3 separate regions of the Homo sapiens genome follow, and regions 1 and 3 are each linked to region 2. Evidence: promoter capture Hi-C in human tissues and cell types (Jung and others, 2019). All regions are on one chromosome and are shown on one strand. The core of a region is centred on a gene start or on the middle of the fragment in contact, and the rest is flanking DNA. Distances in the headings are between cores, read along the strand shown. Region 1 overlaps MGA (MAX dimerization protein MGA). Region 2 holds the start of LTK (leukocyte receptor tyrosine kinase). Region 3 overlaps MGA (MAX dimerization protein MGA).

What was found. The method cuts DNA at HindIII sites, captures the fragments that hold promoters and counts their contacts. A contact is called where the count stands out against the background at its distance.
Region 1: a contact is called between a fragment that was not itself captured here and the fragment with the promoter of LTK in region 2, in 1 of the 25 tissues and cell types used here (lymphoblastoid cells).
Region 3: a contact is called between a fragment that was not itself captured here and the fragment with the promoter of LTK in region 2, in 2 of the 25 tissues and cell types used here (dorsolateral prefrontal cortex and liver).

The regions. Positions count from the first base shown.
Region 1 is chr15:41,754,671-41,758,736 of GRCh38, reverse strand. It overlaps MGA (MAX dimerization protein MGA), which reads right to left. Exons shown (of 24, transcript NM_001400225.1): 19 at 898-949. Among named protein-coding and RNA genes, the nearest start is that of MAPKBP1, 18 kb to the left of the region's middle. The HindIII fragment of the contact is 4,374 bases long and covers 1-3,746 here.
Region 2 is chr15:41,511,670-41,515,977 of GRCh38, reverse strand. It overlaps LTK (leukocyte receptor tyrosine kinase), which reads left to right and starts at 2,151. Exons shown (of 20, transcript NM_002344.6): 1 at 2,151-2,311; 2 at 2,858-3,001; 3 at 3,100-3,271; 4 at 3,713-3,863; 5 at 4,015-4,161. The coding sequence starts at 2,269. RefSeq lists a silencer at 2,786-2,865 and an enhancer at 2,572-3,319. The HindIII fragment of the contact is 13,334 bases long and covers 1-4,308 here.
Region 3 is chr15:41,670,718-41,674,616 of GRCh38, reverse strand. The region is part of intron 2 of MGA (MAX dimerization protein MGA); the gene reads right to left. Among named protein-coding and RNA genes, the nearest start is that of MGA, 12 kb to the right of the region's middle. The HindIII fragment of the contact is 6,232 bases long and covers 1-3,899 here.

The DNA.
Region 1 (4,066 bases), core at 310-2,809, 240 kb before region 2:
GCATTAACATAGAATGGGAGAATAAAACAGCCAAGAAGACAGAAAGAAAAGCAATATAAACATTAAATATAGCAAAGTGCAGCAAGAATTTGCATGTAATTATTTGGGTACAAAACAATGAATTATGTAAATAAGCTATTATGAAAATTCTTGTTATATCTGAAAAATGCTTCAGAATAAATTTTTAAAAGCCAAATATAATGATATATGCAAATAATTACAACCATGCAAATACGCTGTATCATATAAGTCCCAAATCAGATCAAAACCAAACAAACTGCACTATGATTTTTTAAAGGAACCAAATGCCACCCTCTACTTCAACCCAACCCCCATCATTGTCTTTTTTTAATCTTTTAAATTAAGATAGAAAAACAAGTGGAAAACAATTTAAACAAACCAAACTCTCCTCCATGCCTACTGTTGGTTAGGATAAACAAAAAACCCTGCTTAATTATGTTACTATGATATAAACCAAAAAGATTAAGAAAATTAAAGGTTTATTTTTTCATGGATCCCTAACTGCTAGCCATTTTGCAGAGCATAGTTTTTTAAATCACTTAAAATCATGAGCCCAAGCAAGAAAGAATGGCACCTTGTTTTACATCAGACCATTACAAGAACAGTTTTCAAATAACCACATATATTCTCATAAATTTCATATCCATTTTTAACTCCTCTACATTAGTCTATCCTCTGAGGAGAAGAATTAAAAGGGAAAAAAAGGACATTAGCAGTATAATTTGATTAAGGAGAAAAAACTGATTATATTAACTCACTGGCAAAAATAGCCCTGAGAAAAAATCGTGGCTAATATAGCTAATGTTGTTTCAACCCTAAGATAAATGTTAACAATTTTATTCAATGAGTAATTATCACTAAATATATCCTAAATACCTTTCGACTCCTTTCAGCTGCTTTTTCATCTGCAGAGATGTGAGTACAGGACCTGGATAAAGACAGGATTTTTCAGTGTCTTACTGAAATTTAATAATCTAAGACCTATTTCACAGCTACAACCAAACCATTCCAAATTACAACCAGTTTCTTTTTCCCAAGGTGTGATATATGGCCACATTATTTACTTGACATTATATATTTTCTCTAAAAGTGTACAAATAGTCACTAAAACTTCAAATTACTTTGTACAATCATGAAATATTTAATATACAAAACCATATAAACAAATTTAAAGTTGTCCTTCAGTATCCAGGGAAGACTCGTTCCAAAACTTCCAGCAGTATCTTTGAATACTCAAGTCCCTGATATAAAATGGCATAGTATTTGCATATAACATAGGCACCTCCTCCTGTATACTATAAATCATCCCTACATTACTTATAACACCTAGTACAATGTAAAAACTAAGTAAACAGTTGTTATACTGTATTGTTTAGGGAATAATGACATGAAAATAAAGTCTATACATGTTCAATACAGATGCAATTTTTCTTCTTCCAAGTATTTCCAATCCACAGTTGGGTGAATCCACAAATACATGCTTTCTATATTTGTGGATACATGCTTTTCCATTATAAACTTGGTCTTCCCATCCGTGAAGGAGGACCAAGCGTATAATGAACACCCACATATGAACCATCTAGCTTGAGAAATAATACATCTCAAAAATACAGAAGGTTCTATGTGCAGTCTACTCAATCACATTCCCTTCCTTCCTTCTCAAAAGTAACCATTCTAAGACAGAGTTTACCATGCACACTTTTGTAAGTCTTACTAGAAATATATATATATATATCTAAACAAAAAAAGTACCACTTTAAATATTATATACTATACTATATCTTTCTGCAACTCATTTGTTTCATTCAATATTCCACCTGAAGGCCAGGCACAGTAGCTAATGCCTGTAATCCCAGAACTTTAGGAGGCCAAGGCACGAGGACTGGTTGAGGCCAGGAGTTCAAAATTAGCCTGGCCAACATAGCAAGACTCCGTCTCTACAAAAAATATCGAAAATAAAAGTACAAATAAATTACACCTGAGATATGTTGATACGCAGAGTTCCAATTCCAATTGTTTTAATTGTTATATAGTTATATAGTATTCCACAATGTGAATTTCCCCGAATTTTTTTTTCAGAATGTTAGTAGTTATTTAGGTTGTTTCTAAATCTTCATAATAGCAAACAATGCTGCAATGGACAGTCCCATACACGACCCCTTGTGAAAATTTTTCTGGGGCATAGGAGCAGAGGAAAGATATGCACACCTTCAACTTCAGTAACTGTTAAACTGGTAATAACAATGTACACTCCCACTTGCAGTATGCGAGTTCCCATTGCTCCACACCTAGATAACTGTACCACCAGAAATCTCCACTTTTGAAGTCTTATGGGTGTGAATTGGTAAAGTCACTGTGGTTTTATCTGTATTTCCTTAATTACTTGTGAGGCTGAACAAATGTACATGTGTTTGCTGGGCTTTTAGGTTTCTTCTTCTTCTGTCAACTGTCTCTAATATCCATTACTTTTCTACTGGGTCATCTTTTTCTTACTGACTTGTAACAATTTTTTTATACCCTTGACACTAATCCTTTGTTAGTTAATACGTATGGCAAACACTTTCTTCATATCTGAGTTTGGCTTTTCACTGTTTTCACGGTGTTCTGACAGAATTTTTCAATTCTTTTAACTTGTATTTTTAATTAAATTTAAACAATTAATTTAAACAAATCTAATTAAATCTTTAATTTTTTTTTTTGAGATGGAGTCTCACTGTGTCTCAGGCTGGAGTACAGTGGCACAGTCTCAGCTCACTGCAACCTCCACCTCCCAGGTTCAAGCAATCCTCCTGCCTTAGCCTCCCGAGTAGCTGGGACTACAGGCGTGTGCCAACAAGCCCGGCTAATTTGCATATTTTTAGTAGAGACAGGGTTTCGCCATGTTGGCCCGCCTGGTCTTGAACTCCTGAATTCAGGTGATCCACCCACCTCGGCCTCCCAAAGTGCTGGAATTACAGGCGTGAGCCACCACGCCCAGCCTAAATCTTTAATTTTTTATTTTAATCTGTTCCCTTACAGTGTTTGTGCTGTGTGTTGGTTATTCTTGGCCCTTTACTATTGCAATCCATTAACATGTTATCTCTCTCCATTTGTTGAATTCCTCTTCGTCTTTCAATACAATTTTGTAAGAAAAGTCTTACACAGCTTGTCAGAGAATGTTCTCACACGGCATTTTTCCTGTTACTATTGCAAATATTTTTTAGAGTTTTTGTTTGTTGCCATTGTTTACAAACTCAGTTTTAGTATACAGAACTCATTATCCCAGACTAAACTCATTAAGTCTAATTAAGTTTTTAAGGGATTTAAATTCTTTCAAGTTTAGCCAGTAGGTAACTGAAGTAGCCTGCAAACAGCTCCGGACTGAAGAAAACTATTAGTCCTACTTTCTACTCCTTCAACTTTCTCAGCATCAGTAGGAACGAAGAATTATTCTTTCTCAACTCATAGCTACTTTCATATCATCGTAGTTAATGAGATGACAGGAAAAGTACAATGTCTGGCACAAAATATCTTCCTTCTCTACTCTTTCTCACAGCCCAATCCATAATCAATATAAGGCTTACTAAAACAGAAAATGAAATAAATTTTCCTGAGCAAGTCATCATTCCTTTCATATTTTCATCTCACCAGTGAAACAGGAAGAAAAATTTTCCTACCTGTATCTCACCTGTTCAACTAGTAAAGTAACCAAATTTAGAATGTAATGCCTATTCTTAAATGATAAAAGAAACTAACCTTTGTTGAGTAGTCCACTTATATCAGTTATTATGCTAGTTGCACATACTACCTCATTTAACACTTCAAATGGGGGCATTTTCCTCATTTCATAGGTAAAGAATCTGAGGTTCAGAGAGATTAAAGATTTGCCCAAGGTTAAATACCTACAAACTAGCAAAACTAATATTTTATAATACCAGTCTATCGGGCTCCAAAAGCATGTTATTCACATTTACACACTGCCTCCTACCAACGACCAAAGAAAATTAATTACCCAAATTCTAGTTCCTCTCCTCATCTATACTAATCAGAAAAAAAGCTAGAGGAA
Region 2 (4,308 bases), core at 902-3,401:
AGTGTAGTGGCATGATCTTGGCTCACTGCAACCTCCGTTTCTGAGGCTCAAGTGATTCTCATGCCTCAGCCTCCCGAGTAGCAGGGGCTACAGGCATGCACCACCACACCGGGCTAGTTTTTTGTATTTTTATTAGAAGCGGTGTTTTGCCATGTTGCCCAGGGTGGTCTCAGACTCCTAAGCTCAGGCAATCCGCCCACCTCAGCCTCCTAAAGTGCTGGGATTATAAGTGTGAGCCACAGCATGTGGCCCCAATAGGTTTTATTAAGCAACTACTGTATCAGCAAATACCAATGATTCTCAAACTTTGTGACAAAAATCATCTGGAGGATATTTTAAAACAGATCACTGGGTCCTACCACCAGAAGCTGCTGATTCAGTACATCTGGGGTGAAACCCAAGAATCTGCATTTCTAACAAGTTCCCAGGTAATACTGATGCTGATGTTCAGAACAAACCACACAACCACAATTTGAAGAGCAGTGGCTTAAAGAGACTTTGCAAGGTAAATTCTGTGATCTCATAGTGTGATATCTAGTGTTAAGTAGGGCATAGAGACCAGGGTTTTTTTGTTTTTTGTTTTTTTTGAGATGGAGTCTCACTCTGTCACCCAGGCTGGAGTGTAGTGGTGCAATCTCGGCTCACTGCAACCTCTGCCTTCCAGGTTCAAGCAATTCTCTGCCTCAGCCTCCCAAGTAGCTGGGATTACAGGCACCTGCCACCACGCACGGCTAATTTTTGTATTTTTAGTAGAGACGGGGTTTCACCATCTTAGCCAGGCTGGTCTTGAACTCCTGACCTTGTGATCCACCCCACCCCCACCGTCCCCTTGGCCTCCCAAAGTGCTGGGATTACAGGTGTAAGCCACCACGCCTGGCTGAGACCAGACTTTTTACAAAATCACTGTTCTGTTTACACCTTGAATTATACTCAGACTTTACCAAGTAGCTAACTACTATAACTTCTCTTTTGAAGTATTTTGTATTAAACATAGGTCTCAGACTTTCAAGTTAGGATTTTTTTTTTTTTTTTTTTTTTGAGATGGGGCTTTGCTCTTGTTGCCCAGGCTGGAGTGCAATGGTGCGATCTCGTCTCTGCAACCTCTGCCTCCCAGGTTCAAGCCATTCTCCTGCCTCAGCCTCCAGAGTAGCTGGGATTACAGGCGTGCGCTACCACGTGTGTCTGATTTTGTATTTTTAGTAGAGACGGGATTTTGCCATGATGGTCTAGCTAGTCTCGAACTCCTGACCTCAGGTGATCTGCCCGCCTCAGCCTCCCAAAGTGCTAGGATTACAGGCATGAACCACCGCACCCGGCAAATGATCATTTAAGCAAATGATCGAAGACTCAAGACACAAAACTACCTGAAGGGAGTGGCTCCCACATTTGTAGGGTACCTTACAGAGCAATTTCCCTTCATATGATTTTGCAGGTGGTGGGGAAACTCTCAGGGCAGTTGTGGCCTGTGCTACATCACCCATTGACCAGAGGTGCCAGTACTAGTGCTCAAGATCAATCGATCGATCGGTCTACCTACCTATCATCTATTGACCTTCAGTGCTACTAAAAACACTCGGATCTTCTAACGTCTGGTCCAGTCTTTCACCCCATCACAGTGAGAGGCTGTGCACAGGGGTAACACAGGCAACGGAATTATATGAGGCAAACACAGAGATCCAGGTTTCTGGGAGTAGCAATGAGGTTCAGCCTTGCAGTCACAAAGGCACCACTAAAAGGCACAAGTAATGGCAGGTAATGAGGCCTTACTTGGAGCAGTTTAGAGTACTTCCCACGTGTGGTGACGCATGCCACACACTCACCACCACCACCACTGCCACAAATGAAGTGCACACTCCACTGCTCCTGTCCTCAGGAACCTGGAAGCCCCCACCTGGTGTCCGAGGTGTGGCTCCCACTTTAAGCGTGGGGCACCTCCTCTCCGGCCTCAAACCTACCGGAGCTCCCAGCAGGCTGCGGCACATCTGACGGCTGGAAACTAGAACCCCTGGGTGGGGACTCCTTAAGGCTCCTCCCGGAAGCGTAGGGACCTCGCTGCCCACACGCCCCTCCCTTTCCTCCTCTGGCGTCCTGGGGTCTGAGGTGGGCGTGGCCAGACCAGCTTTAGGTCCGGGGAGTGTCTCGCCAGCGGCAGCACACCCCTGTAAGTGGTGGCCAGGGCTGCCGTGGCAAAATGAGCTGTCAACTTTAGGTTGACAGGGGTGTGGCCGCGACCGCAAGGGCTTTTGTTGCCGGGTGGACCCAACAGGGATGGGCTGCTGGGGACAGCTGCTGGTGTGGTTCGGAGCCGCGGGTAAGTGCTATCTGGCGGTCAGGGGACCGTCCAGCCTGAGGCACTTTCCTAGGCTTGGGGGTGGCCGGTCAACAGGCCAGGTGTCAGTGGTTCCTCCAGAGGCCTCGAACTCTCACAGCCAAATTTCTCCGGTCCGTGCTTCTGGAGTGCGGGCCGAGAAGCGCCAAGTGCGTGCGAATCCCAGAGTCTGGATCACGCAGCTTGGGAAGGAGGAACATTCTTTGGGGTCTCAGCACCGCCTTGGGGCGGGGCCACCAATCTAAGTTGAGGAAAGCATTGGGGAGGCTGCAGGACCAAATTCATTGCGGCCCCTAAGTTATTCACTGGGAAAGGCGCTCGAGGAGAGAAACTGGCAGACCTATCAGCGCGCACCCGCGGGGCTTCTGCGACCGGAGTCGGGTAGTGGCTTCCAGGCTGAGAGCGCGGCTGGGCCGGGTGACGGGTGTGGCCGCGACCGCAAGGGCAGCTGTTGCGGGGTTCTCTCTTTCTTTCATATCCTATTTCCACCCGCCTTAACGTCCTGCGCCTTCTCCCAACACCTTTCAGGCGCCATTCTCTGCTCTAGCCCGGGGTCCCAGGAGACTTTTCTGCGGTCCTCGCCCCTGCCGCTGGCAAGTCCCAGCCCCCGGGACCCGAAAGTCAGCGCCCCGCCTAGTATCTTGGAGCCAGCCTCCCCGCTGAATTCTCCGGGTGAGCTTTAGACGCCTCCTTCCTCTTTCGCTCACCATACCAGACCCCTCTGGCCCAGCCAGGGGCTCGACGACCCTTGCCTCGCTCCTTGCTCTCAGGCACCGAGGGGTCTTGGCTGTTTTCTACCTGCGGGGCCAGCGGCCGGCATGGGCCCACACAGACACAATGTGACGGGGCGTACGCGGGGACCAGCGTGGTGGTGACCGTGGGGGCCGCCGGGCAGCTGAGAGGCGTGCAGCTGTGGCGCGTGCCGGGCCCTGGCCAGTATCTGTAAGTGCACGGCGGAGGTAGGGTGGACAGTGACCTGCTAGTTGGAGGTTTCACCCTCAGGGTAACGAAGTCCACGTGCGCACCGACTTGCGTCTTGGACTATTCCGCGGGGAGGTCCACCTTGAGTGCCCTTCAAGGTGGCAGTAGTCGCCACCGAGTTAGCCCTTACCCGGAACCTCTTACACCGAGCGGAAGGCCCCCAACCAGGGCGGCGCCAAGGGGTGCTTGAGCCTCCCCACATTTCCACGAACCCTCCTGAAATAAGTGTAATATCTGATTTTTCGGTGTGCAAACCTACCCTTCCCATCCCGTCAGAGTCGATTGCAGCCTCCAAGTCCCTCAGATAAAAAATAATTCTGGAGCCTCCTCTGTCGCCAACTTCTGCCCGGAGCGGCCGGCCTGAGCACCGAAGGCCGGGGACTCACCGTCCGTTCCCCGCAGGATCTCAGCCTACGGAGCCGCGGGCGGCAAAGGCGCCAAGAACCACCTGTCGCGGGCGCATGGCGTCTTCGTCTCAGCAATCTTCTCCCTCGGTCTCGGGGAGTCGCTGTACATCCTGGTGGGGCAGCAGGGAGAGGACGCCTGTCCCGGAGTGAGCGCAGCCAGTGGGGATGGGGCGGCGCCGGCGCCGGGGGCGAGGGCTGCCTGGGGGCCGGGGGAGCGTGCTTTCCTCGGTGCCGGGTCACCAGCACAGCGAGGGGAGGCTCCCGGGCCCCGCCGATTCCCTCCCCCGCTGCCCGCAGGGTAGCCCGGAGAGCCAGCTCGTCTGCCTCGGGGAGTCTCGAGCCGTTGAAGAGCACGCGGCGATGGATGGGAGCGAAGGGGTCCCGGGGTCGCGGCGCTGGGCGGGAGGTGGCGGGGGTGGCGGGGGCGCCACCTACGTTTTCCGGGTACGTGCTCCCTTCGGCGCTCAGCGTTGGGGTCCCAATCCTCTCCCCAGGGGCGCTCACGCACCGGCTCTCCGTCCGTCCCTTGGGGTCCCCCTATCCCTGCGCTGGGCTGGGCTGGCCTGGGCTGGGCTGGGGGCCCCTGCCCTT
Region 3 (3,899 bases), core at 672-3,171, 160 kb before region 2:
ACCCAGGAGGCGGAGGTTGCAGTGAGCCCAGATCACGCCACTACGTTTCAGCCTGGGTGACACAGCAAGACTCTGTCTAAAAAAAAAAATAAAAATAAAAATAAGAATAATCACTATTAAGCTGGGCATAGTGGCTCATGCCTATAATCCTAACACTTTGGGAGGCTGAGGTGAGCAGGCCACTTGAGGTCAGGAGTTCAAGACCAGCCTGGCCAACATGCTGAAACCCCACCTCTACTGAAAATACAAAAAAATTAGTCGGGCATGGTGGTAGGCACCTGTAATCCCAGCTACCCCAGAGGCTGAGGCAGGAAAATTGCTTGAACCTGGGAGGCAGAAGTGCAGTGAGCCAAGATCGCGCCACTATATTCCAGCTGAGGCAATAGAGCCAGACTCTGTCTAAAAATAAAAATAAAAAATAATAATTGGTCAGATGTAGTGGCTCACCCCTGTAATCCAGCACTTGGGAAGCTGAGGTAGGTGGGTCACCTGAGGTCAAGAGTTCAAAACCAGCCTGGCCAACATGGCAAAAGCCCACCTCTACTAAAACTACAAAAATTAGCCGGGTGTGGTAGCATGTGCCTGTAATCCCAGCTACTCGGGAGGCTGAGGCAGGAGAATTGCTTGAACCCAAGAGGCGGAGGTTTCCGTGAGTCGAGATCGCGCCACTGCGCTTCAGCCTGGGTGACAGAGCAAGACTCCGTCTCAAAACATAACAATAATCAGTATTAGATGGGAGAAGAGGTCAAAGTCATAGATAAGACTACAAGATGGCCAGGGATGGGGTAGCTCACGCCTGTAATTCCAGCACTTTGGGAGGTTGAGGCAGGTGGATCACCTGAGGTCATGAGTTCGAGACCAGTCTGACCAACATGGTGAAACCCCGTCTCTACTAAAAATACAAAACTTAGCCAGGCATGGTGGCACATGCCTGTAATCCCAGCTACTCCAGAGGCTGAGGCAGGAGAATCACTTGAACCCAGGAAGCAGAGGTTGCATTGAACCGAGATCGTACCACTGCACTCCAGCCTGGAAAACAAGAGCAAAACTCCATCTCAAAAAAAAAAAAAAAAAAAGAAAGAAAGAAAAAGACTACAACAGCTGGGCATGGTAGCTCACGCCTGTAATCCTACCACTTTGGGAAGCTGAGGCAGGAGGATCACTTGAGGCCAGGAGTTCAAGACCAGCCTGGCCAACATGGTGAAACGCCATCTCTACTAAAAATACAAAAATTAGCCAGGCATGGTGGCATGCACCTGTAATTCCAGCTAATCCAGAGGCTGAGGCACAAGAATCGCTTGAACCCAGGAGGCAGAGGTTGCAGCAAGCCAAGATCACACCACTGCACTTCAGCCTGGGCAACAGGGCAAGACTCTGTCTCAAAAAAGAAAAAAAAAGAAAGAAAGAAAAACTAAGGACTACGAGAGCATAATACTAGGAAATAACCTTCATGTAATAAATATCTGAATATATTATAATATAAGGAGTCAGTAAGAATAACTGAAAGAAGGGAAAAAATCAAGAGTTAGGAGAACCACGTGAATGGTATGGTAAAAGCCAAGGAAGCAAAAATAAGAGTTTAAAGTAGGAGAAAAATGGTCAAGCAACCGCAAATGTAGCAAATAAAGCCTGAATAAAGATCAGTGTGTTTACCAATAACATTAGCTAAAACAAAGAATGACAGAGCAATCATATATCAGTAACTGAATAGAAAATGGGAAAATAGTGTGTGTGTGTGTGTGTGTGTGTGCACACGCATGTGTATATAATTTTTTAAACCCTTAAATCAGAGGTTGGCAAATTTTTCCTGTAAAGGAACAGATAGTAAATATTTTACGCTTTACAAGCATCTATGGTCTCTGTCACATATTCTTGTATACATACTAAAATAGGCTATAGGCCAGATTTGTCCAACTCCTGCCTAAAAATAATTTCTGCTCCCGTATCAAGCATTTAGAAAAAAAGTTTACATATAGCTAAATACCATTTTCACACACAAAGATAATGCTATTTCTTGGAGCATGATTCAAGTTGCTTTTCTCCCTTTAGTGACAGAGATACTATACGTTAATAAATCTGAACCACTCTCTTGATCCATTAAAATCAAAGGCTTAACCATATGTAATCCCAACAGCTGCTTTCTATAACAAAAAAATAAGCCTGGCTGGGTGTGGCAGCTCATGCCTGTAATCCCAGAACTGTGAAAGGCCAAGGCTGACAGATCGCTTCAGCTCATGAGTTTGAGACCAGCCTGGGCAACATGGCAAAACCTCTTCTCTACTAAAAATACAAAAAATTAGCCAGGGATGGTGGTGCATGCCTGTAGTCCCAGCTATTCAGGAGGCTGAGGTAGGAGAATCACCCAAGTCCAGGAAGTCAGGGCTGCAGTGAGCCGTGAATGCACTACTGCACCCATTCTAAGTGACAGAGCCATACACTATCTCGAAAAACAAACAAACATACGTCTGACCCTTTCACCTAACAAACTCCTTCAGGCCCTATCCTCCAAAGGAATTTCAATAAATTCTGCATCATCCAACGGTACAATAAACTGTTTCTGGATAACAAGGGTAAAAATATAATTTGTGGTCAACTGTTTAAATCTTATTTTAATTATGTTAGATAATCAAGATGATTAAGCTGTGGCTGAAGAATCAAGTTTAAAGATGGCATCCACCAGCTGCAATTACAAACAATACCACAGCAAAAAGTATAACCTGAAAGAACCTTTCCCCTTTGACAAAAAAACTATGCATTGCTTGAGCAGCACTTCCTCCTGCTGCAACAATCCTTAGAAAAAGCAAAGCAATAACCAGCTCATAGACAAGACAAGGGGAACTCATGAGCACGGAGATTCCAAATTCAAAAAATAGTAGCTGTTAGTGGCCTACAATTTTAGCAAGAAAAGGAAAGTAAAGGAAATTTGTGTGCAGGGATTTCTTTACTTTTGCTGAACTTGGGTTTAAAACTCAAAATAAGGCAAGTTCAGGCCGGGCGCGGTGGCTCACATCTGTAATTCCAACACTTTGGGAGGCGGAGGCGGGTGGATCACCTGAGGTCAGGAGTTTGAGACCAGCCTGGCCAACATGGTGAAACCCCATCTCTACTAAAAAATATATAAAAAATTTAGCCGGGCATGGTGGCACACACCTGCAATCCCAGCTACTTGGGAGGCTGAGGCAGGAGAATCGCTTGAACCTGGGAGCCAGAGGTTGCAGTGAGCCGAGATGACACCACTGCACTCCAGCCCGGGCGACAGGGTGAGACTTCGTCTCAAAAAAAATAAACAAACAAAAATAAGGCAAGTTCAAACAAAAAGAAAAAACAGCATCATTCACAATAGTCAAATTCAAGTTTTGCTTTTTGGAACTTTGTGAAATCCTCCCCCCCATCTCATCCCAAATATTTTGGATTTGTGGTTAGTTGAATACACAGCTGCAGCCTCCACGGAATACTGATTGTATAGACAACTCATGATTACAGGCAACTTTCTGTATCTGAGGAGGACTGGTGCCAGGACCCTCCCCAGATACCAAAATCTGAGGATACTCAAGTCCCTTAGTTGGCCAGCTATAACTGTGGATGCAGAACCAGTAGATGTGGTGGGCCTACTATAATTGAAGAAGGGAAGAAAAATAACGCCAAATCATAATGGAAACAAAACTTATCTATATAAGGCACAAAATGGATTCAGAGTCGTTATTTGTATCTAATATTTGTGAATTTACTGCCTGAGGGATATCCTAATCCATAAATTGCCCAACCAAAGAAGAAGCTTAAAATTATTACTTGTTAAAACAGTATTGCTTACGGCCGGGCACGGTGGCTCACGCCTGTAATCCCAGCACCTTGGGAGGCCGAGGCGGGCAGATCATGAGGTCAGGAGATCGAGACCATCC